Regions from separate parts of the Homo sapiens genome. Here regions 2, 3 and 4 are each linked to region 1. Evidence: promoter capture Hi-C in human tissues and cell types (Jung and others, 2019). All regions are on one chromosome and are shown on one strand. Each heading gives the region's core, a stretch centred on a gene start or on the middle of the fragment in contact. The rest is flanking DNA. Distances are from core to core; before and after follow the strand shown. Region 1 holds the start of SP9 (Sp9 transcription factor). Region 2 has its middle 240 kb from the start of CDCA7. Region 3 has its middle 290 kb from the start of SP3. Region 4 has its middle 190 kb from the start of SP3.

The links. Contacts are between HindIII fragments. The study calls those that stand out against the background at their distance.
Region 2: a fragment that was not itself captured here is called in contact with the fragment with the promoter of SP9 in region 1 in 1 of the 25 tissues and cell types used here (lymphoblastoid cells).
Region 3: a fragment that was not itself captured here is called in contact with the fragment with the promoter of SP9 in region 1 in 1 of the 25 tissues and cell types used here (mesenchymal stem cells).
Region 4: a contact is called between a fragment that was not itself captured here and the fragment with the promoter of SP9 in region 1, in 1 of the 25 tissues and cell types used here (thymus).

The regions. Positions count from the first base shown.
Region 1 is chr2:174,333,675-174,336,268 of GRCh38, reverse strand. It overlaps SP9 (Sp9 transcription factor), which reads right to left and starts at 1,315. Exons shown (of 2, transcript NM_001145250.2): 1 at 1,156-1,315; 2 at 1-162. The coding sequence starts at 1,176. LOC102724194 (a long non-coding RNA gene) reads left to right here and starts at 1,293. Exons shown (of 3, transcript XR_427194.5): 1 at 1,293-2,529. The HindIII fragment of the contact is 14,947 bases long and covers 1-2,594 here.
Region 2 is chr2:173,593,531-173,596,124 of GRCh38, reverse strand. No RefSeq gene overlaps it. Among named protein-coding and RNA genes, the nearest start is that of CDCA7, 240 kb to the right of the region's middle. The HindIII fragment of the contact is 5,269 bases long and covers 1-2,594 here.
Region 3 is chr2:173,670,666-173,673,259 of GRCh38, reverse strand. No RefSeq gene overlaps it. Among named protein-coding and RNA genes, the nearest start is that of SP3, 290 kb to the left of the region's middle. The HindIII fragment of the contact is 3,132 bases long and covers 1-2,594 here.
Region 4 is chr2:173,770,296-173,772,889 of GRCh38, reverse strand. No RefSeq gene overlaps it. Among named protein-coding and RNA genes, the nearest start is that of SP3, 190 kb to the left of the region's middle. The HindIII fragment of the contact is 5,425 bases long and covers 1-2,594 here.

The DNA of each region.
Region 1 (2,594 bases), core at 66-2,565:
GGAGCCGAGGTTGCAGCTGGACGAGGAGCGCTTCCAGGGGTGAAAGCCGCCTTTGGCGAAGGCGCTCGACTCTGGCAGCGTCGTCAGCGGGCTCGTGTTGCCGATCTTGTTGCAGGTCGCCGCCAGCATGGCCAACGGGGTCGTTCCGAAGCGCGGCTCTTCCTAGAGTGGGTGGGATGGGGGAGGGAGCAAGAAGGAGGAGGGCAAGAGGAAGTGGGGGAAGAAACAAAGTGCACCCGTGAGCAGCCTCGTCCCCTGCGGCTGCTCCCGGGGGGTCCTGGCTCCCCGCCTCGCGCCTCCTCCCCACGCGCCCGCGGAGGAGTCGCCGCACCGGGCGCGGAGCAGGGGCGATCACCCGGGCGAAGGTCCAGGCGCCGGAAAGTTGCACTTCGCTGAGGCTATAAATCAAAGATGCCTCCGTGTTCCCCGCTGCAACCCTGCCTACAACCGGACTTGGGTTGTCGCCGTAAACCGGCTCATCTCCCAGAAGACCCCAAGTCGCCCTTCGGGGTGAAGCGCGAAGGTAAACACAGAGACCAGAGACAACAAACACCGGGTGAGGGCGGAGGCGGCCGAAACAGCTGCCAGGGACGGGCGAAACTTGCAGCTCTCCCAGGGTGGCTACGACTTGACTTTTCTTTTTTAATAGAAAACGTTTGGTTTTAAAGTTTACATACACACAAAAACAGCGATTATGAAAACAATAATCCGAGGATAAGCGGCCAGAGACAGATTTCAAAGTCATGGGCGAATTGGGGAGCCGCGGAAATGTAAATGTTTATTAGCGTGACTAGATGGACTGCAAAACGATTAAGACTGTTTTCTGGAAACACCATTGTCGCATAATTGCAACAAAATCCCCAAAGCAATGCGGGGGATGGGGTATAAATCACGAGGGGAAGAAAAGAAACCTCTAGCTTTTTTTTGAAACCAAATGAAAAAGGACTTGATTAAGAAGGCCTTTTCTTGCAAAGGCATCTTTCTGGGTTCCAAAAACTTGGGGAAAAATCAGTCCCAGAAATGTGGAAAGTGCTAATAGAAGCTGAAGCTGCAGTCTAGCAGCAACAGTTTCTCCGGAGCCGCAGACCCCAGAAGCCATAACGAAAAATTACTCCGGTTAAAACAAGCAAATGCGTTGCCGCGCTTGCGACTTACCCCGAGTATAGACGTGGCCATAGCAGGTCTCTGGCTGCGCAGCGAGGCTGGGAGCGGGGCTGAGCCTGGCGGCTGCTCGGAAAAACTGCTTGGGTCCCGCGCGGCTCCCGCGTCCCCGCGCTCGTGCCGAGCGGACTCCAGGCTCCCGCCGGCTAAACTCAGCCTAAGTGCGAGGAGCACCCGCTTTGAAGTGCCGCTGGCTGCGCCTCTCGCCCAATGAGGGCGCAGGCAGAGCAGACCGGAGCTGCCCCGCAGCCAATCAGACGCTCCGAGGGGCCCGAGCCCGGGCTCCCGGCGCGTGCCAGTCAAGTCAGCTAGCTAGGGCCGCGGGGGTGGGGGGGAGTAGTGGGGGATACTTGCGGGGGGGGGGCGAGGGCGGGCTGGGGACTGAAGAAATTACAGTGCAATTAAAAATTTACACTCACGCACCAAGCCAGGTTTAAGTACCAATGAAACCGAGCCACAAGCACCCCCCCACACACAAACCACCCCGAGATGTTGCAAGTTAGGGCTGACAGTCCTACTCGACTCCCCACTTGTAGGAAAGGAGGCAGGAGGGGAGGAGACACCCAGACACAGCCCGCACCAGCAGGGCCCAAGTGGAGACGGAAATGTGAGCCCTCACTTTGTGTGTCCAGGCTTTTGCCTACAGAACACAACTTCAGCTTGTATCTATCATTCTTGCTTGTGATTTTTATCATTTTCGTGTGTCTTCTACCCAATTCCTTATTCCACTAGATTCAATTTCACTCTCACAGTTATACTGGGGAGGGGGCGCGAAGGGACAGCTCCTCCGAGAGGAGCGAAATAGGCCTCTCTGTACAGATCTACATCCACAGATTTGTTGGGAGGGCCTGGAGCCTGCTGCATCCCGCCATTTCCCCCCAGCGGTGTAAGTGACTTCCTAATTGTCGCTCTGGCCTCTGACCCGGGGGGTAATACAAGTGCCACTCACGCTAGAGGCTTCTGGTGGTAATTGAGGGCACCCTTTGTACGGTTTCGCCAGCGCTTAGATACCAGGTTAACCCAGTTGTCAAATATGACTAAACAGTGGGATGTGCTGATTATCTGCCGGGTTTTGCTGTGGGCTGGCATGGGGGTGGGAGGCATCAGCCCATACAACACGCTGCACGAAGCCGCTTATTTTCTCACTGTAACAACTTTGGAAACAGAGACCGGCGCGAGCGGCGTCCGCCCCCACCTCCACCTCCGCTGAAGCTGCAGCTTGCTCGGCTGTTTGTTTAACCCGGTGAAGATTTGCATGTCGCGTTTCATCCTGGAGTGGAGTTTTCTTGTCCCAGCTCCAACCCACTCCCATTCCAGACCACCAGGGCCTAGAGGCTCGTCCGTAGGGCAAGTGCGCTGTTTTAAGAGGTAGGCTCCCCATTAGTGCCCTGCTTTCACGGACGCGCCCGAGAAATCTCTCCAGGACTTTCACC
Region 2 (2,594 bases), core at 30-2,529, 740 kb after region 1:
ATCACCATTCTACTCCCTATTTCTATGGGGTCAACATTTTTAGATTCCACAAGTAAGTGAGATCACACAGTCTTTGCCTTTCTATGCCTGGCTTATTTCGCTTAGCGTAATGTCCTCCAGGTTCATTCATATTGCCGCAAATGCCAGGATTTCCTTCTTTTTCAAGAGTGAAAAATCTTCCATTGTTTATATACCACATTTTCCTTATCCATTCATCTGATGGTGGATGCTTAGGTTAATTCCATATCTTTGCTATTGCTAGTAACATTGCAATGAATATGATGGGAGTGCAGGTATCTCTTAACATACTGATGTCCGTTCTTTTGGATACATATCCTGAAGTGGGTTTGCTGGATCATATGGTAATTCTATTTTTAGTTTCTGAGGAACCTCCATACTCTTTTCCATAATAGCTGTACTAATTTACATTCCCACCAACAGTGCACAAGTGTTCCCTTTCCTCCACATCCTTGCCAATAAAAGTTATTGTCCATCTTTTTACTAAAATAGCCATTCTAACAGGTATGAAGTGATATCTCATTGCAGTTTTAATTTGTGTTTCCCTGATAATTAGTGAAGATGATGATTTTTCATATATCTGTTGACCATTTACATGTCTTTTTTTTTTAAGAAATGTCTATTTAAGTCTCTTGCCCATTTTTTAAATTGGGTTCTTTATTTTCTTGCAATTGAGTTATTTGAGTTTCTTATATATTTTGGATATTAGCCCCTTATCAGATATGTGGCTTGCAAATATTTTCTCCCAATCCATGAGTTGTCTCTTCATTCTATTGCTTCTTTTGCCATGCAGAAGCTTTTCAGTTTGATGACATACTTTTTGTTTATTTTTTGCTTTTGTTGCCTGTGCTTTGGGGGTCACATCCAAGAAATGTTTGCCCCCAGAACAATATTGTGGAGCATTCCCTTTACGTTTTCTTCTAGTAGTTTTACAGTTTCAAGTGTCACATTTAAGTCTTTAATTCATTTTGAGTTCATTTCTGTGTATCATGTGAGGTAAGGGTTCAATTTCATTCTTCTGCATGCATATCCAATGTTCCCAACATCATTTATTAAAGAGATTGTCCTTTCTCTATTGTGCGTTCTTGGCAGCCTTGTTGAAAATCAATTGACCATAAACATGTGGGTTTATTTCTGGGCTCTCTATCCTGTTTCATTGGTTTTTGTCTGTTTTTATGCCAGTGTTTTGCTGTTTTGGTTTCTATAGTTTTGTAATACATTTTGGAGTTAGGTAGTGTGATGCCTTCAGCTTTGCTCTTTTTACCAAAGATTTCTTTGCCTATTCAGGGACCTTTGTGGTTTTACACAAATTTTAGGATTGGTTTTCCTATTTCTGTGAAAATGATCGGCTAACTTTGGAGAGCTGAGGTGCAAGAGCATGTAATATCAGAGCTGGAGTGAGCACCATCGCAAGATGAAGTCACAGACGGGCCTCCATTATGGGGAAGAACAAACCAAGAGCCACACGCAGGAAGCCAATTCATGAGATTGTCCTGTGTCCTTATAAGAAACCCCCCTGTTAGTGTGTGCACCACCAGGCCAGATGCTAACTGTGAGGAAGGACTATAAAGAACTTGCATTTAGTGAGGTCCTCGAGAGTGGCAGGCAGTTCTAGGCACCTACATGCATCATCTCATTTAAGCTTCACAGTAATCCTGTTACATCAATCTTATTATTTCATGTTCACGGGTAAAGACACTAATATGGTTTGGCTCTGTGTCCCCACCCAAATCTCATGATGAACTGTAATGCCCAGTGTTAGAGGAGGGGCTTGGTGGGAGGTGATTGAGTCATGGGGGCGGACTTCCCCGTTGCTGTTCTCATAATAGAGTTCTCACAAGATCTGATTGTTTGAAAGTGTGTAGCTTCTACCCCTTTGCTCTCTCTCTCCTGCCACCATATGAAGACTGTGCCTGCCTCCCCTTCACCTTCTACCATGATTGTAAGTTTCCTAAGTACTCTTCAGAAGCAGAAGCCTGTACAGCCCACAGAACTGTGAGCCAATTAAACTTTTTTCTTTATAAGTTACCTAGGCTCAGATATGTCTTTACAGCAGTGTGTGAATAGAATAATATAGAAAATTGGTACCAGAGAAGTGGGGCATTGTTATAAAGATATTAGTAAATGTGGTATCTATAAAGATACCAGTAAATGTGGAAGCAGCTTTGGAACTGGGTAGTGGACAGAGGTTGAAACAGTTTGGAGGGTTTAGAAGGAAACAGGAAGATGAAGGAAAATTTGGAACTTCCTATAGACTTGTTGAATGGTTGTGACCAAAATGCTATAGTGATATGGATAATGAAGTCCAGGCTGAAGAGGTCTCAGATGGAGATGAGGAACTTATTGGGAACTGGAGTAAAGGTCACTCTTGCTATGCTTTAGCAAAGAGACTGGTGGCATTGTGCCCCTGCTCTAGGGATTTGTTGAACTTTGAACTTGAGAGAGATGAATTAGAGTATCTGGCAGAAGAAATTTCTCAGCAAAAAGTGTTCAAGTTGTGGTCTGGCTGTTTCTAACAGCATACACTCATATGTGTGCACAAAGAGATTATCTGAAACTGGAACTTATATTTAGAA
Region 3 (2,594 bases), core at 38-2,537, 660 kb after region 1:
GGAGGCGTTAACTCACCTGCTCCCTTGAATCACAATGTGGGAATATCATATGGGTTCCCACAGGCATCCCACAGCAAAGAAGTTCTGGGGCAGGAAGTGAGAGACCAGTGGTGCACACTTGAAATGAGATGTCAATTTGAACTGGTTTGAAGCTTGCCCGCAACCACTCACACAGCTGTTGCTGAATTATTAGTGAGGCTGAGGATGTGTATGACAGGTCTCTGCCTTCTCCCAATCACATAAATATAGTAATTCATTTGCTCTGTCTTATGATATACTGTATACAAAATATATATCTCCAAATTAACACATTAACACCACTAACAACAATATATCCTACTAAGGATGTATAACCAAAGTACTTGGTTCAAAAATTACTTAACTCAGTTTTTTTTCCCCTATGTGGTCATGTTATCTAATTTATATACAGTTAAAATTATTTGTTTCTCTTTATAATAAGAAAGCGTGAGTAAAATTGATGACATTACAGAAAAAAGATTTTGTCAGGCAGAAAACACAAAAAGCAAAGACAAAAGACAAGGGGAAAATGGGCAGAAAATATTTTCAATAGATACCACAGATAGGAGATAAATATTTTCAATAGATACCACAGATAGGAGATGAATTTCTCTTGTGTATAAAGAATTGTTAAAATTAATATAAATTATTAAAATTTAGATAACCCAATAGAAAAAATCAGCAAAAGTGATGAAGAGACCCTTCAAAAAAAGATATATACTATAAAGTGATTAAAATTAAAACTACACTGAGGTATTACTTTTTACTTATCATATTGGCACAAATTCAAAAGCTTGACAACAAATGACTACCTATAAAAGAAAAATGAAATAAACTCTGGTACATGCCTACAATGGAGTACTATACAGCCATAAAAAGAGAATGAGGAAGACCTTGATAAAAGGTTATATAGCAATTACCAAGATGTAACATCTATCATATAATATATATAATATCTGTTTTTTGTAAGAAAGAATTGGCAATAGGAATGTGTGTGTGTGTGTGTGTGTGTTTCTGGAATTTAAAACATAAACCCAAAGTATAAATCAAAAAACAATGAAAATGTTATCTATAGGGATAGAAAAGGGAATGAAACCTCTCGATGGATACCTTTTTATATAGTGTTGACTTCTGAACCATATAAATTTTTAAATATCAAAAAATATATAATTAAATTTTAAACTTTTAGGGGTAATAGATTTGCTCATTATCTTGATTGCGGTATTCATTTTACAGATACATACATATGTCAAAGCTTATCAAATTGGACTATACATAGATTAAGTATAGTCGATGTCGATTATGCTTCAATTAAAAAATTTTAGTAAAATTTTGAAAAGCAATGCTAAAAAAAGATTTTGTGGCTTTAAACAAATAAAACTAAAATCATTTAATTAAATTTTAAAAAGTGTGGCAGATTGTCTTTTCTTTACATTCCATGTGCTCTTCCAACATCTTAGTATACCCACTTCAAGAGATGAAGTCTGTGTCCCTTCCAACTGAATCTGGTCAGGCTTTTGTGACCATCCAACTAATAGTATGTGGGTGAAGTAATGCTCTGTGGCTACTGAGGCTAGATCATAAAAGGTTATCTTTCTCTCTTGGGGTGCTCACTCTTGGTCTTCAGTCATTCTGTAATGATGAAGTCCGGGCCACATGAAGGGGTTATATACCATAGGGAAAGGGTATACATGATTCAGAAGGGATATGTAAAACAATCATTTAAAGGCAGGACTTATGGTAAGCATAATAACATCAAGGTTGTGTGACCTAAGGGCAGGATTTAAACTGGAAATCTTAGAGGTTTTCCCAGAATTGGGGTTAATCAGAAGTCAACACGGACACTTAGCACTCAAGGTAGAGTTGCTTTGGCATCCACAAAACATATGTGCTGCACACACTCATACACACAAACACACACCCCACAGCACATATTTTAATTTGCTCCACGTAAAGTGTATAAAAATATTCAATTCCATTGGATTTGTAAGTAAATGACCACAAACACATTTTGTAGCTGTATTAAGCCTCAACCCAGGCTAAACTTCCAGCCAATAGTCAGGACCAAATTGCCAGCCAAATGCACCCTGTAGGAGCCTGATCCTCTGGCTGACAGTCGAGCTTTTTTAGCTAATGCCAATTGGAGCAGAGATCAGCGTTCTCCACTGAGCCTTGCCTAAATAGAAGATTCTGGGGCAAAAATAAATAATTTTTGTCATTTTAAGCCACTAAGTTTTGGCACAGTGTATTATGCACCAGTAAATAACTAGTGAGGAGTTTGGTATCTGGAAGTGGTATCTGGGGTGCTGCCATAGCAAAGCCTAAATTATGTGATAGTGGCTTTGGAACTGGAAGGTGGGCAAATATTGGAAGGGCCTTGAAGAAACTGTTAGCTGCAGTCTGACGGCCCTTACGGGACTGTGAGTGAGGGTTTAAAGGAAAGAGAAAAGGTTACTGGAATTGAGTGGAAAGAGGATTTTGCCTGCAGTGACATAAAAAATAGAAAAATTATACATAATGAACTGGTGAATATGAAAACTTTTCAGGCAGTATTTTGAAAGTGCCAACTGGATCTA
Region 4 (2,594 bases), core at 25-2,524, 560 kb after region 1:
TTCAATATTCCAAACTTGCAAGTTTAATTCTAAAGTAGTCCAAGACGCAATCATGGATTATTCCATCTGTGAACTGTATGATATTGCAAATGAAGAGTTCAGACTTGGTTTAACTCTTGACGATCTTGCAAAGTAAGCACAGGCTCATTATAATAACTGTGTTCAGGCTGTGTGTGAGTTTGGTGTCTGCCGGAATGGCAGCAAAGATGACTGAGAATTCAAATGTGTGTGGTCAGAAGCCTGTGTTGCCACTGTGCTCTCTGGCCACATTGGGGAGTGGCAGAGATCTTCTTCCCAAATCAGGAAAGGCAGATGCCCATGGATCTAGGCTCTTGAACTGTTTTCAGGGTGAGTAAATACCTTTCATTTCTTCTTTATTTTGGAGAAAAATTGAAAAAGGCAGGTTATCACCATGGTCCCTTTGCTCTCCTCTTTCATCATTTTCTTGTCAATGAAAGAAAATTTACAATAAAAAATGATTACGTAACAAACATTGAATGCAAATGTTAGAAGTTCACAGGTGAGGAGAGGACAAGTGGTGACTACAGAAGGCAGCCCCTTTGAGGGTCTGAAGCATAACAATTTCGCATTCTTCTTGCTCATATGCCCTAATTTTGCCCTAAGAAGGAGGCTTTCCCTCCACACAGTAGATAGTCTTCGACAGAACCTCAAGGGTAGCTTCTTCTGCATTAGTCTTGGAGTCTATTCTACATCTAAACGGCATGGGAGATCAGCTGCTCAGCATCATAGGGCAACACATGTGAAATTAGTACTTCACTGGAATGACACCCATGTGTAGAAGCCAGCATGGAGGCAGAAAAGGCCTGACACTCCTTTGCCATCCTACTTGGAAGGCAGGGCTTATTCTGTCAGATGCCCTCGACTTGGACTTGAATCAGGAGTGAGTGAAGTGACGAAGCAGGGACCATGACAAGACCTAGGACCAGTGTCGGCAACAGTGCTGGAGGTTTTAGTATTTAGATGCAGGGGCAGTTCATTTTAGGTGGGTCCCAGGAAACTTTGTTTCTTTGTTCCTGCCTGTTTTGTTAACTTGGTTTCCCAGCTTTTTTGGAGAATCTGTAAGCTACCAAGACATCCTTCCAGTAAATTCTCATCTTGCTTAAATCAGCCAGAAATGGTGCCTATGGTTTGAAACCAAGAAACTTGGACTGATACAGGATGTACTCTCTTTTCATTAAAGCTTACTGTCTCCCAAACACCTGCCTTACAGACAGATAATGAAGTAGACCTAATCATGAACCAGAATTGCCTTCGAAACTTGTGTTTTGGTGGAGTGAATGATGTCGGCCCTCAGCGTTCCTGGGCTGCTGCTGCTGTGTTTAAAACTGTGCCATAGGAACTGTCACTGTTTCTGTGGTTTCTGAGGGATGGCTCTGCTTCAGGTTTGTGCTCTTCTCAGAAAGGCACTTGCTCTGCCAGAAGAGTTTGAAGAGCACCTCTTGTCACCTCAGCATGAGAAAATGGAGATTGCAGCAACCCAGAGAGAGAGCTCATGTGAGAATGACAGAAAGCTCAGCCTCAGAGCAACAGCCAGCATTTGCCACATCCAGCAGAGGGGAACAAAGGTTTCCACAGACAGCCATGGAAGAAGACTCAGTACTTGATGTCTATTTCTTGAGTGACTGCATAAGCAGAAACCAAGACCTGGTTCACATTCCCTAACACAGGGAGTGAACATCTGTGCTCAGCTGGTGTGGAGTCAGAGCAAAGAGGATCTCACCAGAGCAGAAATACTTAAATGAGAGCACTACAGGATACAGCTTGGAACAATGGGGAAAAGACAACTGCTCAAGCTTTCTTTCAACTTGGTAGCTCAGATTTCATCTAGGACAACGGCTGAGCTGTCGTATCAGAACTTCCATTCTCTAGCTCCAAGTTCTGATCAGTTAACCTCACCTATTTATTTACTTTAAAAATTTTATTATGGAGCTATGATATTGTGATATAATGCAAAACATATATTTGGTCTCTGCCCTTCCCTCTCCGCCCACCTACCTGTTCTTGGCACAGAATCCTAAAGGCCTTGTAGATAGGGGCGCTAGAGGAATCTTTTGTTCCGATATTTGGTTTTTCACCCTCAAGACAAAAGTGCTCCTAAGACCTTTCCTCTGTAATTTTCTTAGTGGTGTAAGCACCTGACACAGAGCTCCTAAATCCCTTGGAATTTCCTGGGTAATAGGAGCATCTTTTGTTCTAATGAGGTGACTTGGTGGGCTCCTGGGTAGCCTCAGGATGGGGGCTGGTTGCCAGGGGAACCAACTCTGTGATTAGAGGATTGGAACTCTCAGCTCCATCCTTTGACCTCCTGGAAGAGGAGAGAGGCTGAAGGTTGAGTCGATCATCAATGACCAATGATGTAATTAATCATGCCCTACCTAGTGAAGCCTCCATAAAAACCCGAAAGGAGTGGGTTCAGAAAGCTTCCGAATTACTGAGCACTTGGAAGTTCTGGAGGGTGGCATGCCTGGAGATGGCATGGAAACTCCATGCCCCTTCCCCCATACCTTGCCCTATGCATCTATCTATTCCATCTGGCTGTTCATCTGTGTCTTCTGTAATATCCTTTAAATAAA